Linked DNA regions of Homo sapiens: region 1 is linked to region 2. The links are contacts of gene promoters, found by promoter capture Hi-C in blood cells and fetal thymus (Javierre and others, 2016). All regions are on one chromosome and are shown on one strand. Each heading gives the region's core, a stretch centred on a gene start or on the middle of the fragment in contact. The rest is flanking DNA. Distances are from core to core; before and after follow the strand shown.

Region 1 (2,700 bases), core at 91-2,590, 590 kb before region 2:
GGTCGCTGGCCATTGATGAATAGTCTGAGATCTGACCCCTGTGGGAAAGATAAAGTGCCATTTACAGAGGAGCACCCCAGCCTGGCTTGCCTTCCCCAGACAGAGGGGCAGCTCAAGCTCTTGCATGACACAGGCACCTGGAATCCATCATGGGGAGTAGACTGGGGGAGCCAAGGATGCAAAGCATCCCTGGGCCAGGGAAGACCAACAGAACGAACTCCTTCTCAGGAGATAGAGAGAACTAAGAATCATCAGATCAGCCCCTAAGGCTAAATTCCCATATCTGTTCCAGACAATCAGGAATAGACTCAAGAGTGTCAAACCAACAGCTCAGACTCTGCATTCACGGGATTGGGGTGAGGGTGAGGATGAGAAAAGAGGCTTGCCAGAGAGGAGGGCACCCACCAAAGAAAGTGCCCAGGAGAAGGGCAAGGAGAGAGCAGAGCATCATCCAAGCCAGCCTTTCCTTCAGCTAGTCTGGGGGACAGACGCCTCCTCTTCTGGGCCAGTGATGTGGTCAGGCTGCTCCCTCTGGGAGATCTGCTGCCAGAGCAGAGGAATCCTACCCCATGAGCTGGGGAGGAAATGAGGCTAGTCTTCTTTTAAGAGTGTGGTGAATCACCCCCAGCCTCCCTGGGAACCAGCTATACTCTGCACTTGTTATCTTCTTTGCATTCCTGCTGACATCCTGGTATGTAAATATATTTAATGACTCATTATTTACCTGTAAACTAAAGGTAACTCTCCAGCTCCCCCGGGAGACATCAGAAGCCTGGGAAAGCTTCAGAGAAACTGTGATACTGATAGAAGGATGAAAAAAGATTTTAGTTTATCTGAAATTGGAAACTAGAGCTAGACATGTTACCTGGGAGATGAAAGGATAGGGCTCAAGAGATTCAGGTATTTTGGGGTAATCAAAGCAGAAATGCTCAGTTCTGAGGGCAGGAAGCTTCTATGACAGCCAAAGGGATCGCCTGCATAATCTTCATCCCTGGCAGACAGATTTTGAGACCTGGACAGGCATAATTAACTCCTGAACTGATCAAAGTTGGAATCTGCTCCATGTGTCTCTAATGGGCCAACTAGATCTAATTTATCCTCTAAATGCAATATGAGTAATAGGAAACATCACAGAGACTTGGAATCATATGGATTTGGGTTCATTTCACAGCTCTGCTTCTTGCTGGCTTGGGAACTCTCAAGCAAACCCTGATTCTCAATTTTCTTATCTATAAAGTGAAAATAATGATGACAATATCTAAAAATTGTTGAAAGATGCATTTTGCCTGGTGCACTGCAGGCAGGCACTCTTACATATGTTGGCTTTTTTTTTTTTTTTTTTTTTTTTTTTTTTTTGACTCCCTATGTCTGCAGCAAAGATTGGGAGATTTACAATGGCATGGGGTGGAAGGTAGGGGCTGAAGGGATCACGAGCCACAAAAAACACAGTCAAGCCACGAATTCATAATAGTAAGGATTCATAATAGCTAAGCATGGGACTCTGCTAGGTAGCTGCTAAAATGTCATTCTGCTGAAATGGGACAAAAGACCTTCAGATGCCTGGAGGACACCAGCACACCCTTGGAAACTCCTCTTCCCTCTGTCTTTGCCATGCTCTGTATTCTGAAGGATTCATATTCAGAACAATTACTTAGTTTGGGTTGGATGTGGTGGAGCGGTTTGAGATGAAAACCCAGGAAAGAAAGCCGTAAAAGTGGCTGAACAGGGAGAATAAGCTTTAAGCAAATAAAGCATTTGTAACACTTTCCCATTTCATCAGGGCCTAGTGATGTCATATGTTTGTTGTTGTTGCTGATGCTACAGTAACACAATTCCAAGTTAATGTTGGGGTTCTTGCTTCTGACAGTTTTGGCTGTAGCACATTTTTTTGTTTGCATTTGAATACACCATATGTATAGGGGAATGTTTTGTTTTTTATCATTTCAAAATGGAATTAATCCTCTTATAACATTTATTTAAATGATAAATCAAGTGGTAAATATAGTTTGCTTGCAGTGAACATTTGGAACATATGATGAAAAATAGCTATAGCCAACGCAAGAGCAGTTTTCATTGAACAGTTGTTCAATCTCAGTTTTTAATAAATCTGATAATATAATATCTGTGCATGTTAGGATTGCAGAGAGTGAAGCCAAAATAAATATGTGCACACATAGCCTATTCCTCCCTTTCTTTCCATTTCTGTTCTCTTTCCTCTTTGCTTTTGAAATTTTTATTTAGTCCTGAGTGGGGATGGGGTGGAGAGAAAGTGGACAGTGGGTGGTGGGAGATACAGGGAGAAAGAATGAGAATTGCTCTTGTTCTCAAGGGTACCGCATCACGTTTTCCTCTGGCTGGCAGTCTTTAACACCAGCGTATCCTATGAGACCTGACTTCACTCATCAGCTGCATCAGCTCAGTGTCATTACCACATGTAGACAGCAATGTAATCCTCCTTCTTAGAGATGCTGCAGCAGATTGGAGGGTGAAGAGATGTATCAGTCAGATCAGAGTAACCAGCTGGCTCCTGGCTCCTGATCATTGTCACAGCTCAGTAGCTGGAAGCTCCTTCCATATGGCTGATGCCTTTAAAAAAATCTCCTCAATCTCCATCCCCATCTGCAATACTGTTTAGTTATTCAATCATTTAAGTCATTCATGTATTGAAAAGAGGATGGGGATATGATCCCTCTGCTCTGT
Region 2 (2,700 bases), core at 120-2,619:
CATTTGTAATAACCGTTATAGTAAGCCAGTAAATCCAAGTCAATGTTTCCCTGAGTTCTGTGAGCCATCCTAGCAAACTAATTGAACCCGAGGAGGAGGGTCAGGTAAACCTGATTACAGCCGATGGAACAGAAGTATAGGTGACAACATGTTACTTGTGATTGTTGTCTAGAGGAGGGCAGTCTTGTGGGGCTGAGCCCTCAACCTGAGGCTATCTCCAGGTAGATAGTGTAAGAACTGAATAAGATTAGAGGACACTCAGCTACTGTCCACTGAAGAATCTGCCAGAGAGAACTGACTGCAGGCGGGAGGAATCCCTACACGCATTTTGGTGACCACAGGTCACCGAAGTGATTTGTGTTGAGAGTGCAGTAGGAAAAAACTGAGTTTGGTTTTTTGTACATCATAAGAGCTGCTCTCTGCATTTGAGTCTGAATATGCTCTCTCAGACCCACCTCACAACCTGTTCACTGAGTCTTAGGAACATCCAAGGAAGGAAGGGAACTGGAACAAGCTCTGACACTTTCAAACAGCTGGAATGCATGGTGTGCACGCAGTCAGCCTGAGGAGGTGTGGAGGATGAGCTAAGGGCTCAGAAACCTTTAGGGGAGCAGCTTTTAACTTCGGAGGAGTCAAAGACCCTTTGAAGAATTTGATGAAAGCTTTGGCTGGTCTCTCCAGAAAAAAAAATGCCCGCTTACATATACAGAATTTAGAGTACACTTTCATGGGGTTTCCCCACCCCCTGAAACCTATCAATGCAACTTCATTGGGATGAATGGATCTCAGATTGAGGATGCTTTTCTGCCTTTTCTATCCCTCCCCAAGCAAAGCACTGGTCTCAGCCTTCAACCATCCCCAGCATGGTGCATTCTCTCCCCGGGTATGTGAGCTCCTCTCCCCCTCACAAGTATCAGCTTGTATTCACAATATTCCCAAGTATTCACTGGAGGAGCCAGGCCATTCAAGCGTTCATCTTGAGGTGAAGTCTGACCCCCCCACCCCTTGTCCCATTGAGGAGGCTCTGACTCAGCCTCCTCTCCCCCTCCCTGAGGAGACACTTCCAGTTTTTCCTGCTCTTTTCTCTGTTCCTCCACCCACCTCTCCACCCCATTTCCCACTGGCCTTCAGGAGTTTTCCAAGATCCTTCCCTCTTCCGACACTTACCCCATCTTTTGGGGGATCCAGCAGCCAGCCCAGCTCTCCCTGTGCCTTGCTTGTGTCCATCAGAGTAACTGAAAGTGGGGAGAAAAGAAGTCTGTCACCTCTGGGGGAGGAGGTGCCCCTGCAGCCCACATTAATCATTCTGGGGCCTCAGCCCCAGGCTGCAACATCCTGTTCCTAAAAGCTGTGACTTCCTGAGGCTTAGGGGAGAAAAAGGGCTCAGGACTGAGGAGTGAAGAGCTCCAGGGATTTCACTCTTCTTTGTGTGTGTGAAGGAAGGCAGGTAGAGTGGGACAAGGGTTGGGGCGCTGGGTCTTTGACCAAAGTCAATGCAAGAAGAGCAGCCCCACGAGACGCTCAGTTACCCAGGCTGCTGCGTCCTGGGACACCCATCAGCTGCAGGATTGGAACGCGTGGAGGGCAGGAGGAGCTCACCTCTGCTAGCCAGGAGTGGGCAGGGTGGACCGGGGACCTCAGAAGGGGTTTCCTGGGTAGGGAGGCTCACCTCCACTGTCCGAAGCCTGCTTTGGCCTGACCTGGCCAGTGATCAGAGCCGTGAAGTGGGGATAAGAGGCACAGCTACCTGCCTGGGAAGTGGGGGGGAGTAAGGCCGGAGAGGGTGTTCCAACTTTCACATGGAATATTCGACTCGGACAACTGGGAACCCCTGTGGCGTCAGTCCTAACCCTTCTCCCGGAGGCAGCTCCCTCTGTCCCTGGCCTAGGTTGGCAGGAGGCGACTTCCCACCTTCAACTTCCAAGGGCTCAGATCTCTGGGGTGGGCACCTGAAGCTGGGACTGTCTGGGAATGCAGGCAGGGGTGCGGGTGCAGGTGCTACTTCCTGGCAAGGGTCCGGAATTCCCTCCCCACTCCCAGGAGCAGATTGCTGGCCTGCGGGAGTGGGGGTGACTGACCCGGGAGAGCAGCCGCTTGGGGTTAAAGACCAAAGATGGGCCTGGCCAGTCGATAGCCTGGCGGTCGGGCACAGCGAGAGAGCTGGCGAGGGTCTCGGGGAACATGGCCCCTAGGAATGCCGGCTTCTGCAGGGGGGTGCTGGCCGGGCCCCGGGAAGGGGCGGGGCGCGGGGGTTGGGGGCGCGGGGGCGGGGGTCGGTACCTTCCTTGGCGCGCGCCCCCGGGGGCAGCGGGGCGCAGAGCAGCAGCACCAGCCCTAGCCCCAGGGGCCAGCGCCGCTCCATAGCTCCGGGCCGGGACCTGGGACAGTGGCCCGGATGGCAGCGCCAGGTTGCAAGGGACTAGGAGAGCCGGGCGGGCCGGGCGGGGGCGGGGGGCGGGGCCAGCGCCGGGGGCGGAGTCCCGGCCTCACCTGGTTCACCTCCTTAAAGGGACAGTAGGGCAGGAAAGAAACTTGCTAGACTGGTAATCAAATTCAAGAACCGGAGGCGTCTTGACCCGAATGAGACTGCGGGCGCCGCCTAGTAGGTGGGATTAAGAATTGACGAACCTTTTCCCAATTCTAATCCTAAACTCAACCCAATCTTGATCCAGCTTTTAACCTAATTCTACCTCTGACTTG

Evidence for each region. The method cuts DNA at HindIII sites, captures the fragments that hold promoters and counts their contacts. A CHiCAGO score of 5 or more calls a contact.
Region 1: a contact is called between a fragment that was not itself captured here and the fragment with the promoter of EPHA1-AS1 in region 2, in 1 of 17 cell types (fetal thymus). The highest score is 5.1, in fetal thymus.

Annotation. Positions count from the first base shown.
Region 1 is chr7:142,812,840-142,815,539 of GRCh38, forward strand. LOC105375541 (a long non-coding RNA gene) reads left to right here and starts at 1,358. Exons shown (of 2, transcript XR_001745392.2): 1 at 1,358-2,700. It also overlaps TRB and TRBV30. The HindIII fragment of the contact is 787 bases long and covers 948-1,734 here.
Region 2 is chr7:143,406,444-143,409,143 of GRCh38, forward strand. It overlaps EPHA1-AS1 (EPHA1 antisense RNA 1), which reads left to right and starts at 1,370. Exons shown (of 5, transcript NR_033897.1): 1 at 1,370-1,443. It overlaps EPHA1 (EPH receptor A1), which reads right to left and starts at 2,413. Exons shown (of 18, transcript NM_005232.5): 1 at 2,281-2,413; 2 at 1,168-1,235. The coding sequence starts at 2,362. RefSeq lists an enhancer at 2,485-2,700. The HindIII fragment of the contact is 7,900 bases long and covers 661-2,700 here.